Regions from separate parts of the Homo sapiens genome. Here regions 2, 3, 4 and 5 are each linked to region 1. Evidence: promoter capture Hi-C in 16 types of primary human blood cells and fetal thymus (Javierre and others, 2016). All regions are on one chromosome and are shown on one strand. The core of a region is centred on a gene start or on the middle of the fragment in contact, and the rest is flanking DNA. Distances in the headings are between cores, read along the strand shown.

The links. Contacts are between HindIII fragments. The CHiCAGO score rates a contact against its expected background, and 5 or more counts as called.
Region 2: a fragment that was not itself captured here is called in contact with the fragment with the promoter of SLC12A6 in region 1 in 2 of 17 cell types (non-activated CD4 T cells and activated CD4 T cells); the score reaches 7.4 in non-activated CD4 T cells.
Region 3: a fragment that was not itself captured here is called in contact with the fragment with the promoter of SLC12A6 in region 1 in 1 of 17 cell types (non-activated CD4 T cells); the score reaches 7.0 in non-activated CD4 T cells.
Region 4: a contact is called between the fragment with the promoter of RASGRP1 here and the fragment with the promoter of SLC12A6 in region 1, in 1 of 17 cell types (activated CD4 T cells). The highest score is 6.0, in activated CD4 T cells.
Region 5: a fragment that was not itself captured here is called in contact with the fragment with the promoter of SLC12A6 in region 1 in 1 of 17 cell types (M0 macrophages); the score reaches 6.9 in M0 macrophages.

What each region holds. Positions count from the first base shown.
Region 1 is chr15:34,336,439-34,339,247 of GRCh38, forward strand. SLC12A6 (solute carrier family 12 member 6) reads right to left here and starts at 1,343. Exons shown (of 26, transcript NM_001365088.1): 1 at 894-1,343; 2 at 1-314. The coding sequence starts at 242. RefSeq lists a silencer at 1,198-1,757. The HindIII fragment of the contact is 4,998 bases long and covers 1-2,809 here.
Region 2 is chr15:38,680,811-38,683,619 of GRCh38, forward strand. The region is part of intron 1 of LOC105370775 (a long non-coding RNA gene); the gene reads left to right. Among named protein-coding and RNA genes, the nearest start is that of LINC02694, 14 kb to the right of the region's middle. The HindIII fragment of the contact is 4,614 bases long and covers 1-2,809 here.
Region 3 is chr15:38,664,623-38,667,431 of GRCh38, forward strand. No RefSeq gene overlaps it. Among named protein-coding and RNA genes, the nearest start is that of LINC02694, 31 kb to the right of the region's middle. The HindIII fragment of the contact is 832 bases long and covers 993-1,824 here.
Region 4 is chr15:38,563,467-38,566,275 of GRCh38, forward strand. It overlaps RASGRP1 (RAS guanyl releasing protein 1), which reads right to left and starts at 1,348. Exons shown (of 17, transcript NM_005739.4): 1 at 1,128-1,348. The coding sequence starts at 1,162. RefSeq lists silencers at 645-844, 855-1,074, 1,105-1,344, 1,505-1,554 and enhancers at 1,412-1,923, 1,765-1,954. The HindIII fragment of the contact is 3,108 bases long and covers 328-2,809 here.
Region 5 is chr15:38,083,756-38,086,564 of GRCh38, forward strand. No RefSeq gene overlaps it. Among named protein-coding and RNA genes, the nearest start is that of LINC01852, 12 kb to the left of the region's middle. RefSeq lists a silencer at 2,260-2,319. The HindIII fragment of the contact is 748 bases long and covers 999-1,746 here.

The DNA.
Region 1 (2,809 bases), core at 93-2,592:
CGGTCACTGGGTGGATCCAGTGCAACAGTTGCCAGCGAAGTGGTGGCCCCAGACATCTCACTCATAGGCTCACTCCGGCTTGTTTCAGGCACGCTTTCCCGGGAGCTAAATCTTACTCGGGAACTAGATCGAGAGCTGAGGTCCGGACTGGTGTCTGACAAACCTGGAATGTCATCGATCTTTGTCGGTGTCACCATGAACCGAACTGAAGCCATCTTGGTGGTGGTTTCTGGAGGATGCATTTTGTTCTTTTTAAGAACAAAAAAAGTGGGGGGAACCTCGCAAAATCTTCCTCTTACGCTAGCTACTTTTGACTGCAATACAAAAGATAACTTGAAAAATAACACATTTCAATAACCTTGATTCACACCACACAAAAAGCCCCAACTAAGAATACTTCTACTCAGAATTCAAGCCGACTGTCCTAGAAAGTGCATCACCAATAGGTGAATATATTTTTTAAGAGAGAAAAAAACAAAAAACAAAAAGACAAAACAATGCCAATCTTGTGTGACTTCTTTCCTTCAGAATGAAGAGCTACCTAGCTAACCCCTCTGGTCCGGGGCTGAAGGCTCAGTGCCATGGTCTCAGGGCAGCAGATGAAGCCTCCCTCCCCTCAGCCCCCAGTTTCCTGTCGAGGTAGTCCTTTATCTGGTGAGTGTCCCACGGTTCTAGTTGGGCGAAGTGCGTGCAGGCAAACCTTTATCAGGCGACTATAGCGTGGATCAGATTGCTAAAAGGTGTACACCCGGCCACCTGTTGTGTATCAGGTGAATACCCCACAGGTCTGGCTGGGGGGAGGTGTATGCAAAGCCACCCGGTGTTTTTGATGTCGACAATCCACTTGGGTCTGGTGGGAAAGGTGCACATGCATAACGGGAAAAATAACCCACACTACTGAGAGAAGGGTGAGCAGAGGAGGATGCAGGGGCAGAGCGGATTCCTGTCTCCGAGAGGTCGGTGGGGGTGGCGCGCCCGCTCTTCTCCTAGCAGAAAGGTCCTCGGGGTCTGGGAGGAGGTTAGCGGATCAAGACACCTCGGACTGCAGCTCAGAGTCGTGGCAAGTCGTAGCTAGTCCACTGAGCCACGGTCCGCTCGCTAGGTTTCTCCTGCGTGTGACAGGACGAGCCACCCCCTTTGCCGGAGGCGCGTTCTCCCCTACCCCCGCCCCGGCGCAGGTCACCCCCTCGTCGTTCTTCCTCAGGGTCCCAGTAGAGGAGGAGACGGCCACGCAGGCTGGCCTGACTGGGCAGCAGGGTGAGGGAGAAGGAGGTCGCAGGTGCAGTATCCCGGCGCCAGCTGATGCGGGTGCGCGCGCAGCTGTTGTTTACTAGCCGGTAACTGTTTCAGAGCCGCGGCGCGCGCAGGGTTCGCGCTGCCGGGGCTGGCGCCCCCTCCCCGGCCCGACGCCAGAGCAGCAGTTACGTGACCTGGCCTCCCCCAGCCCCGGGCCCGACGGGGTGCGCCCGCGCCGCCGCAGCCCTTCCCTTCCCTCCCCGCTTGTTCCTCATTCGAGGTGAACCTTGCGAAGAGAAGCCCGGGGGTGCAGTGAGAGGGCGGAACCGTCCCGCGGGCGCCCGAAAGCCCCGCCCAGCCGCCGCAGCCCGCGGTGACCGAGTGCAGCGCGCCTGCGCTCGCCGCGGGACACGGCAGGCGGGGCGGGGCCGAATACGAGTGGCCAGGGGCACGACGGGAGCTGTAGTCCAGGGCACGGCCCGACCCGCGTGAAGAGGGGAATAATCCTTTTCCTCGGTCCGGCTGTGCTGCACACTCACTCTGGAAGCATCCTAGAGGGCGGGCGCTGCTCCTCACCCTCAGAACCCGGGGAGCCATTTCTCTTTCATGAGTGTCTCTGAAAACATCATTCATGATTTCTTTAACCAGAAACACCGCTCCTATACCTGGGAATAACCCTCATTGTAATTTTTATGTAGAGGTCTACATACAAATAAACCACTTTTATGTAAAAAAAAAAAATTAAAACTATAAAGTAGGCCTGGCGCGGTGGTTCACGACTGTAATCCTAGCACTTTGGGAGGCTGAGGCGGGCGTGATCGATCACCTGAGCTCAGGAGTTCCAGACCAGCCTGGCCAGCATAGCGAAACCCCGTCTCTACCAAAAATTCAAAAATTAGCCGGGCGTGGTGGCGTGTGCCTGTAATCCCAGCTATTCCTTAGACTGAGGCAGGAGAATCGCTTGAGCTTGGGAGGCGGAGGTTGCAGTGAGCCGAGAACGCACCATTGCATTCCAGCCTGGGGGGACAAGAGCAAAACTCCGTCTCAAAGAAATAAATAAATAAAAATAAAACTATAAAGTACCTTAAACACATTTGTCCTACTTTAATTTTTTGTTGTTGTTCTTGTCCTTTTAATAAATGCTATGTCCACTTTCTAGTCAGACTGAAAGTTCCACTAAATAATACGTTTTTTTATACCTGGAGAAGACGTTGATGTATTTTCTCAAATCCATTCCATGTTTTCACCACTACATTTGTCGCTAGAATATTTTTTCTTAGTGTTTATTTAATGTATAAATGGTGGTGTTCGATAAATTCTGACTCACCAATGTTTTGTTTGAAAAGCTATTTCCTATAGCTGTGATCAAGACCTCTAAATTTAACAATCACCTGGGCCCAGAAACTGGCCCCCGGTTTTGCCTGGGGTCTTGGCTCCTCACAAGTGGTTATGTTTAAGCAGCACTCCTAGCAATGGGAACTGTATTCCCGGAAGTTCTCTTTTATCAAATGACACACAAAGTCCAAATCCTTTCAAGGATTAAAGGATCAAAAAGGTTAAAAAGATCCTGGTA
Region 2 (2,809 bases), core at 128-2,627, 4.3 Mb after region 1:
TTTTCTCATGCATATATTATGAACATTTTTCATGACAGCGAATACAATCTATTTTGTCATTTTAGTAGCTGCAGAGAGAGGCTTACACATCCTATGAAAGGTTGTGTAATGTAAATTTAAGAGAGCTGACTCAGACCAGACCGCCTAGATGCAGATATTAGCTCTGCATTGACTAGCTTTATGACCTGGTTAGCGAACCTCTCTGTTCCTCAGTTCCATCATCTGTGAAATGCTGACAGTAATTGTAGTACCTATCTGTTGGGAGGCTTAGATGAGTTAATATATGCAAGGAGTTAAGAACAGAGCCAGGCGTTCTATAAGTGCTATGTAGGTGGTGTTAGTGCTTTCTATAAAACACCATCATTTAATTGACCAAAGTCCCTTCATTCTGATTTTTTTTTTGTTTTTTTTTTTTGGATAATGTTGTGATGGATTCTCTTCTTCTTTCTTCTTCTTCTTCTTCTTCTTCTTCTTCTTCTTCTTCTTCTTCTTCTTCTTCTTCTTCTTCTTCTTCTTATTCTTCCTCTTCCTCTTCTTCTTCTTCCTCTTCTTCCTCTTGTTTTGATGGATTCTCTTCTTCTTCTTCTTCTTCTTCTTTTTCTTCTTCTTCCTTCTTCCTTCTTCCTCTTCCTCTTCCTCTTCTTCTTTTTTTTTGAGACAGAGTCTCACTCTGTCACCCAGGCTGGAGTGCAGTGGTGCCATCTCGGCTCACTGCAAGCTCCGCCTCCTGGGTTCATGCCATTCTCCTGCCTCAGTCTCCTGAGTAGCTGGGACTGCGGGCGCCCGCCACCACGCCTGGCTAATTTTTTGTATTTTTAGTAGAGATGGGGTTTCACCGTGTTAGCCAGGATGGTCTCGTCTCCTGACCTCGTGATCCACCTGCCTCGGCCTCCCAAAGTGCTGGGATTACAGGTGTGAGCCAGCGCGCCCGGCCAATAGATACACTTCTTCTTGGGGTGGGTCAGGGACATTTGTTTGCCTATTCCCTCAGATACCTTCCTAGAATTAAGATTGCTGTGCTAAAAGGCAAGTGCATTAAAAAAAATTTTTTTTTGATATTTGTTGCCAGACAAGCCAATTACATCATTCGTTGAACCAATTTCCAGAAACAGCGCGATAGTATTTTCTCATACTATCGCCAACACAAGTATAATCATACGTATAAACACTTGTTAGTCTGCTAAGTGGAAAATGAGGTTTTAATTTACATTTATTACTAGAGGGGTTGAACTTTTCATAATTTTGTCCATTCTGTTTCTTTTTTCAAATGGCTACTTATGGCCTCTGCCTATTTTTCCAATGAGTGTTACTTTTTTTTAATATAAAATAACTATACATTAAGCGTACTTGTATTAGTCCGTTTTCACACTGCTAATAAAGACATACCCGATACTGGAAAGGAAAAGAGGTTTAATTGGACTTACAGTTCCATGTGGCTGGGGAGGCCTCAGAGTCATGGCAGGAGGTGAAAGGTACTTCTTATACTTCTTACATGGTGGCGGCAAGAGAAAAATGAGGAAGAAGCAAAAGCAGAAAACCCTGATAAGTCCATCAGATCTCGAGAGACTTATTCACTGTCATGAGAATATCATGGGAAAGATGAGCCCCCATGATTCGATTACCTCCCCCTAGGTCCCTCCCACAACATGTGGAAATTCTGGGAGATACAATTCAAGTTGAGATTTGGGTGGGGACACACCCAAACCATATCAGTATTCTATCACGTTTTGCAAATCTTACATATAAAGCTGACTCATGAAACTTTAATATTGAAGTTTGAGTTAGGCATTATAGCTAGGTTGGGTATGAAAGAGATTACTTTTAAGGGGACTAGTGAACCTTGGTGAAGGGTATGTGGAAGTTCTTTCTATGATTCTTCCATTTTTTTCTCTTGTTTGAAATTATATCAAAATAAGAAGCTCCAACAACCCCCCACTCCACACACACAGCAAATTGATTTATGGGGTAATTGGTGCCCCCACTAACCACACAGCTACCTACCTATTTTTTTTTTCCATTATGTTCGTGGCTGTTGTAATAGAGAGACCCCACGGCCATGTCTGTGGGCAGCCTGGGAAAAGTCTACAAGCTACCCCTACTGAGATCAGCTACATCAAGCTCTGCTCTCCCCTGGCCAGAACCTGGGTCTGCTGAAATAATCATACCCTTTTGGTCTGCTATCATGTGCTCAGTATGCTGCTTGAAACGCTTAAGACCCTGTAGGCCTTCCTAGCCTCTTTGGTTAGGAAGTCCCCTCCTTCTCACTGGTCCCAGGAGGATAGGGGGTGGCAATGCAGCTTGCTTCTGTTTCCTCCATCCCTCATCTGTCTGTGCTGCTTATGCAAAGGCCTACTCACTTAGAGGAGAAAGACTCCACTCTTAGTTCCATCTCTGCAGCTAGAAAGTTAGTCCTTAGGCAGACTGACATACCTGCAGAAACAACCCCCCAACTCTTTATGGCTTAATTCAATAAAAATTTGTGCTACCTATCCAACATGAGCTGTGGAGGATTGGGGTCAAGAAGCATGGGGTTAGTGATGATTCTATGATGGCTGTCCTCCACATACTTACCCAGGGATTCAGTCTAGCAGAGGCTCTGCCACCCATCATGTTACCAGCTACCACAGCAAAGGAAGAGACAAGCATAGAGAAATTATACTCACTTTTCTCTACCTTGGCTCTAAGGGGTCACATATGATTTTCACTCACATCTCATTGGCCTCAATGGTCACAAGGCCTTGCCTAACTGCAAGGTGGCTGGAGAATGCAGGGAGGGCCATAGAACATGTGTGAACCTTGCTGTCTCTGC
Region 3 (2,809 bases), core at 159-2,658, 4.3 Mb after region 1:
CTAAAGTTTCTACAGAATGATCTTGTTATACTGTCGATAGCAGGAGTTCTCACTCAGGAGTGCCCTTTGGAAACATTTAGGGAGCTTTTCTAAATACTGATGCTCAGACTGAAAGATTCTTATATAATTGGTCTTGGGGGAAGGCATTACTTTTTTACAGATTCCCAGGGGATTCTAATGTGAAGCCAGGTTGGGAACCATTTATGTACAAGAACAAAAACATGAACATCAAAAAAAAAAATAGCCAATTCAGTTAACGTTTAAGGTAAGGAAGAGAAAAATGAGAGATCTTAAAGTAGGAATTTAAAACTCAGAACAACTCTTAAAAATAGTATCTTTGTAAATCATGACTCTCTTATTATAGGCATGCCAAGAGCCAGTAGCTAAAACCATTGGTTTCCTCAATTCTATAAATAAGAAAAGTCTTTGCTTTCTTGTGCTTTCAAAAATGCCCAGCATAGTGCTGTTCTGAGAGAGACAGCTACTTAGAAAACATCAATGCTTTACACCTTCTTCTACTTTGATCCCTTCGTTTCTAGCATTCTCTCCTATTCACTTTTGGAACACACTCAACTGCTTGTTCTGCACAGTGAGCTTCATCTGCAGGAGGACTGACAGCTTTGGGCAAATACACTCTAAACCAACAGCTCCCAGCAGCCCTGGACATCTTCAGATGTGCTGATTTTAGAGCCACAGTTCTTCCTTCTCAAGGATCCCACCATAAAGACAATGCCTACATGTACATATAGAGTTATTGTTGTTGCTTTTGCCTTTTCTTAATTTTTTTTTAATTGTGGGGGAAGGATAGCAAAATTCTGGATGCTTTTAGCTCCATGGTTTGTCTAAATGTGCATGCACACACGTGAACACCTCAAATGATCAAGAATTCCCATCAAGAACAGAACTATTTAAAAATTGTAATGCTCTCCATTGACACCCCGGCTGAAGAGCAATTTTATAGCATAATTATAATGCATTGCATAATTTGGATAAGCTTTTGTTCTCATTGTGATTATCCTCAGAGAGTTCCTTTTTCACCTCCCCCTTCCCACATTGACTGAATTAAGAATATCCAACCCTTAAAGGCTGTTTTGCCTTCAAAGAATAAAAATGATGCTTTAAGACTAAGCGCCTAAGAAGTGATGGGTGGGAGAGAAATTTTGGTACATGACTCACGTCTTTATTGTGGTAAAGGTAATTTTTTACTGTTCTTAAGAAGTTTCTACCTAAGATTTCACTGGGGTAGGGGAAAGTCAGTGGAAGAGAATTATAGGAATCAAAAGTCCTGGCCAAGGTTGTTATTAAACCATATATCATAACATTTTAAAAGAAGGGCCAGAGAGAGGACAGCTGGTAGGTTTATTAATTTGTTCATGCCCATGGGCAAGTCACCAAGCCCTAAGAGTCCTAGTTTGCTCAACTTTACAATGAGGAAACTGAACCAGATGAGCCCTAAAATAGACTCTTACATCCTAGGATTTGGTCATCTGGGAATGTAATACAATTGGAAGATAAGACAATGATGAGAAACCAAATATTAGATCAACTTTTTGTGGACCTTGGGAAAATGAAAAACTCTGATTCACTTTAGACTTAGTGATTTAACAATGAGAATAAAGGATTTTAGGACAACGGTATTTCCAAGTCCCCTGTAAGTGCTGATAATTTTTCTGTAACTGAAAGTGCCCAGTTTTAGTATCTGGCTACAACCAGTAGCCCTTGAAAATGAAATAAGAAGAGTGAAGGTATCAAAATATATTATCAGTCATTAGGCAACCTATACTGAGACTTGGTTAGCATGAATAATTTACAAAGAACACCTGAAGCTTCTTTTTTCTTACGAAGTACTGGATTTTGGAGGAGTTATGTTTTGTTTTTTCCAGCCATACCTAGCATATTTTGGAGGTTATCATAAATATGATAAAATATGCCCTGATATTTTGAAAGCACTTGGAAGATCAGAGGCTGCCACTGTCCATTAAAAATTATCAAGGTAATGCATAAACGTGGTAAAACATCAGTCAGTACTGGAAAATTCAAAATGACAATTTTGAGTCCTCCCTTCCCCTACTTCCTTTCTTTAATGATTTATAATTTTAGCCATTTCGGTGGTCACCTCAGTAAATAATTTGCTGATGGTTTTGTCTCTTGATTTCTTCACTTTCAATAACATTCATTGTCTACTTGCTGTGAAAGGTGAAAATTCAGATCATTCTGTCTTCTTTTACTCCATGCCCTTTCCAATTTTTGATAGTAATGCTATTGATTTTTGTTTTCCTCTTCATTACTTTAGTAACTGCAAATGCTATAATTTTATCTCCATCTCTTCTTCTGTGAAGCCTTAGACCTCTTAACTGTCTGATTCCATCAGATTTTCTGGCCATCCCTGCACAGGATTTCCTTGCTCCACACCCTCTGCTGTTAGTCTGACTCTACCACTTCCTCCAATACACTGTTTCAAAATGTCCTCATCCTTGAAGATGTCAGCTGACATTTAAAAGACGTCCATACTTTTGATCATTCTTATACCAGATGCACACAACACCAGTGTACAGTGTAATGTTAATTTTTACATGTTTATCAGTATCTTTTACAGAGTAATCTGTGTTAGTCTTAACGTCCTACTTAACCTGATCAACTTCTTCAGGACAGACATGGTAGTTATTTCTTTATCTTCCCACAAACAGATGTGCACCAAAGTGCACTCCGTACATGCTGCTGATTAAAATAACTAAAGAGACATTCTCATCCCTTAAGTTACTGTTGACAATTTTGAAGTGTCAGTCCGAAGTCACAGTTTTAGAAGAAA
Region 4 (2,809 bases), core at 98-2,597, 4.2 Mb after region 1:
TCTCAGTGGAGGTCAGTTTCAGGCTGAGCTTTTTATGAAATCCGCCTAGAAAAGTAAGAGATGAAATGGAGCAAGGGAACTGGAACTTCCACAACTTTCTTTGCAGTGGAAGGTGACTCTCTTGACTTCTAGTATGGATTCCTTCCAGTCCCGTCCTCTTCCCCTTACAATACTCAATTTAATGTACTGAACTCCTCCTTCTGAATCTAGTGCAAAGTACAGTGGTGGACCCTCAGGGGATACCTGGATGGGGAGAGGCAGGGCGTGCATACAGGGCCAAGAATCCTTCGTTCCTGGGATTATAAGCACGGGAAGTCCAGCATCGCAAGCTTCCTGCCGCTACTGGGTATGGTGGTGCAAGGCACAGTCCCATCAGTGTCGATGTGAATGGAGTTGTGAAGTGCACAACTTGTCCAGCCCCTACGCCGAGGCCAGGCCTTTGTTCATGCAGTTGCCTAGTTCTGGTCCTTTGGCTACAAACTCAAAGCTGCCTGGCCAAGAGCCCTTTCACTCACTGTCCCTCTTTCTTCAACTTCTGTTATCCAAGACCCTCTATAGAATCATAGTGAGGGGGAGAGGAGTGCAGCTTCCCATACGGAAGGCGATATGTTTCCCTGACCCACGGATCTGGAAACTTCCGTGGGGCAGGGGCAACCGAGGGGTGCCACCTCTGCGGGCTCCCTGCAAGCTCCTCGGCCGTTCTGGGCAGGGCCGGGAGGGGCCACCAGGTGGCGCAGCCGGAGCCCAGCGCCCCAGCAGGTGCGGGCAGCGCGGAAAGTCCGCGAGTGGGAGTCCCGATGCCGGGCGTGGAGATGTGGGGGAGGAAGTCGGCGGGCGGGCGCCGGCTCCGCGAAGAGCTTCGGCCCTAGCAGATCTCACCGGACGAGCTCTGGCCTCGCGGCCGCCCCTCTACCACCCCTCAGCCCCAGCTCCCTCCCCGAAACCCCGGGCGCAGCGCGCCGGGCGTTCTGGACACGTCCGCCCGTCGCGCTGGTGTCCCGGGACTCCGGCCGACCCCGGCCCCCCTCCGCCCTCAACTTCCCTCGGGGTGTTGGGGCGACGGGCAGGGGCCTCTTTCCCAAGAAAGGACACAGGCGCTCCCGAGGGCCACGGCCGCCTCTACTCACCGCGGAGCCTCTCTCGCCTTGCCCAGGGTGCCCATGGCCGCGGCCCGCGCTCCCGGTGCCGGCTCACCTAGCGCGGCCGGGCGCGGCGCATCGCCCCCGCCACCACCGCCGCCGCCTGCCGGCTCTCTCCCCCCCGGGCCTCGTAGCCCCGGCGCCCGCCAGCCCTCGAGCCCGGCGAGCCCGACCGAGGTGCACCGCAGGCACAAACTTTGTGCGAGCGCGCCCCCTCTGCCTCGCGCGCGCGCTCACACCCGCCTGGCAACCACCTGACACGCTGATGCTGGCGGCTGCAGGAAACGTGCGGCGCCCCGCCGCTCTTCCCCGAAACCTGCCCCCTTTCCGCGGGTGCCCCGGCCTGCGCCTCGCGCGGTTCTCTCACCCCTGCCCGCCTTCGACCTCTCTTGGCCAAAGGGTTAAGTCTCAGGGGAGTTGGAGAGGAGCGGGCTCCCGGCTACCACGCCCGCGCCTTGCAGGGCACCTGTGCCCGTCGACCTCCACCTCAGCTCGGGAAACGGGCTGCGCCTAGCGGCTCCCATGGGACCCCCTTTCCCGCAGCCGACCCGCAGCTTCCACGCCTCTTCCTGCGGCCGCTGCTCGGAGCACTGCAGTGAGGACGCCTTCTCCCCTCCAGGGCCTCTCCTGTATATATCAGAGCGCGGAGTCCGGCAGGGGAAAGGAACGGAAAGACAGTTGTGAAGTTGCCTTAACCTGTGCCCTGGGGTCTCTAGGTAGCCGTCTGCAGGACTGGGCCGTAGACATGTGCCCTGTGCCCTGCGCCCTGCACCTTGGACGAGGGCTGCCTGTGTGGAGGTGCGCTCCACAGGCGTGATCCATATCTGGCCCAGACGCGGCCGCCTGGCGTCGGTGGGTGTAGGAGATGTGGGGACAACTTTCATACAACGTCAGTGCGCACAGAAGACCTGGCCAAGAGGGGCGGCCCATCCGCTGCTTGTCCAGGTGATAGTGCTGATAATCTCAATAGCTAATGATTGAGTGCGGTTGTGCTAAGTGCTTTCTATACATTACCTCATTTAATCCACTCTCCCTGATACAAAGAGATCACTGTTGTAAAGATGAGAAAATGAAGGTTTAGAGAATGCTATGCCTTAGATCATACAACTAATAAACAGCAGAGAGACCTCTGACTTGGACTGAGGTCTGTCTGACTCCCTGTAATCACTGCTGGACTGCCCTAATAACACACTCATTATCACGGCCACAGACCATAACTCTAGCCACAGTCATAGTTGTCTTCCTGGCCATAGTGTTCTGGACTTTAAAGCCTTCCTCTGTTTCATTTATATATTTCCTTATATTTATATGCTACCTTGTCCTTAAAACAGAATTCGAGATAGCTTACAAGAGCACATAACCTACAAAAAGAAGTGTGTGAAATGAAAAATGAGGCACACAAGATGGAGCCAAAAATGAACATCATTTGAAATAAATGCATCTCATAGAGTCAAATACCCTTGCTACAGGTGGGACCAAAATTTGTCTCCTGCATTTCTAGCAGTCAAGTTTAAAGAGAGGCCTTGTCTAAAGTTCAATTCCTATCACATGCAAGACCAAAAACAAAATTGCTCAAGAGAAGATCCCCCTTTCTTGATACTGAGACCAGCAAGAAATTTCTCCAGAGAATCCTCATGAACACTGGGTGATATAAAGAACCAAGTCCTCAG
Region 5 (2,809 bases), core at 123-2,622, 3.7 Mb after region 1:
CAAGAGTGTTCCTACTCTTGTCTGGAGCTGTTTGAAATGATTAGCTCATAAAGCAATGTGATCAGCCTTTAGCTTAAAACTCCACCTAAGCAAATTCTTACAGTATAGGATTACACATCCAGGACCCTAAAATTCAGCAGATCTTTTTTACCATCACTTTGGAGGTAAGTCAATAGATATCTATTATAATTCTGAAGTAGTCTGAAAATCCCTGGACATTGCAAGGATATTCTAAGGACATACTTGGCATCTTAAGGGATAAACCCACAGCCTCAGGGCAATGAAGGGAATGTAGCACTATGCCAGATATCATGAGGACACAACAGGCCGCAGGAGCCCAGCATCAATTGATTATGTACAGAACTCTGGCTAGAAGTGGGGAATCAAAAGCTCCAACAAATAATTTATCATGAAAGTTAAAATTGAGGAGAAATGTGGGATTAAATACAAAAAGGAAGATCCATTCTATGCATAAAGGAATGAGGATGGAAGCTTATTGAAGCCATGAGCCATCATCGTTTCAGCTGAACATTGATTAGGCACCTATTATATGCCAAACACATATCCTGTCTAGATTCTAGAAATATATAGAAAAATAGAGTATGAGTAGAATATGAGCTTCAGGCAGACTGACCAACCAAAGGAAATGATCAAAAGCAAAAGTTGGGTCAGTCAGAAATCAAAATGCAGGAAGCTGGCTGGTGTTATACCACAAAGTGTGCTGTTTTTACATGGTATAGAGTCAGTTCCTCTGGTTGAGCCTTCCTTGACCACAGGCAATTAGTCATTGCTTCCTCCATCCCTACAGCTCTCTGTTCTTACCTCTACTGGAGAATTTATCCTGTTCTACCTCTTTTACTTTTTTATTTTCTTTTCAACAGAATTTGTAAGTCTCAATGTTCTACCTCTTTATGTTTGCTTTTCCCTAGATTGTATCTTCAACCCCTAGCACAAACCTTGGCATATAGGAGACATGTAATAAATGTGTTTCCATGATAAGCTTGAATCAATTAATAAAAGAGGAAAGTAACGTGCCTTGTTTGAAACCTCTCTTTAAGGCCACAGGTCTTGTCCTGCTGTATTAGAAAAGGCTGTTCTAAGAAAAAGGACTGAGTTAGAATGAAGTACATCCTTCACTCATCTTACAAAACCCTCTTTAAATTTCTTTAATACATAACTTGATGTAACACTGCAGAACTCTATAACTAAGTTAATGGCAATTCCAATTTAATAATTTTATTTATCAAGAAAGCTATAGGAAATAAAATCTTTCCATTACAGTAACAATTGGTTTGTCTATTGTACACTTCTTAAGGGCAAAAATTAAAAAGCATGTTTAAGGGAAAATAAAAGTTAGACATTTCAAGAAAATTGATATACCGTGAACCTCATCTTTCTATATGATGGTTTTCATATTCACTCGAAGAATGGGATTTAACTCTCTTCTCTCTCTCTCTCATTGTCTCTCCCCACCTCTCTCGCACGTGTGCGCGCTCACACACCCACACCCACCCACACACACAGACACTGTGGTACTTTAGTCTCATTAACAGGTGCCTTTCAGCTACTTCCTTTTTCTAAAACAAGAAGTATTGAGTCAGCAACTTGGCCAGGGGGAACTCAAAACAATGTCTATTAATAATGAAGACTTCCTAATGTTGGCAAAATCTGTTTCCCCTTTAGAAGACTGAGAGAGCAAGCTACTAAAAGTTAGTATCCCTCACGAAGTCAAAGAGATTTAGGAAAAGCTTTCTAGAAGTCTTGATTTAGTTAAAATTTGGGCCACATATTTTGGGACAGAGCCCAGAGTTCTTTATGTTGGCTGTTGATAGAGGCAGCTTCCATTTCAAGATAAAAACTAACAAATAATTAAAATGTGTTAAATATTTACTGTGTTCTAAGTATTGTGATAAGCTCTTGTATGAACTTATTATTTGACCCCAACAACAGCCCTGATAGTGAAGCTGGGAGTGGAGATCTGGTCTTTCTGATTTAAAGGAGATGCTCTTTGCTGTTACCTTAAACTGTGTTCATCTGAAGTCCCTAATTTAGGATAAACGTGGGTGAGACATGGATGGAGTCTCTATTCTGAAGAACTTGCATTCCACAAATTTCTCATTGAGAGAAGCAGAGAAAGAGAATGCCAGTTTCCCAAGATGTCTCAGGAATAGGATTCAGGGTTTGGGATTGAATATCAGACAAACCTACATATTCCCTCCCTCTGCTTACATTGTAAGGTGTTGGCTCATTTCTGAAAGCAAAGGCATTTAAACTATCTCACGGACAACTCACTCTGGCCCAAACCACCACATTCACTTGAAACAAGAAGTGTATGCAGTGGTTCAGGGTGACCCAGCTAAGAGCAGTCCCATTTAAAGCTATTAAGTGTGGTTTCTTTTTCAGTGAGGTCATCCTGTTTAATCTCTCTGAATTGAAACAGCCTATAAAGCAGCCTCTCAAAAAGCTTATCTCAATTTGTTTCTGGGTGGACTAGAAGCTTCAACTTTTTAAGAGTGCCTTCTTAAAGTGAGGAGGAGGAAGAGTTTGGTAGCAAGAGGAAGGACTGGTAAGAAGGACAAAAGCAGTAAAATGTAGTCACATGGAGAAACTACTGAAGGGATTGCAAAAGGACACAGAAAGAGGTTGGGAGCACAGACAAGGAGGAAGTTTGAAGACTCCCTGTCCATTTTCTCACCATTCAGTAGATCTGTTCTTGCTTAGAACCAACTGTAAGAAAGAGAAGATATAGGAAGAATCACATTTCAGAGAATGTGTTTCCATATCCCACCATGGAAAACTGCCCACTGCA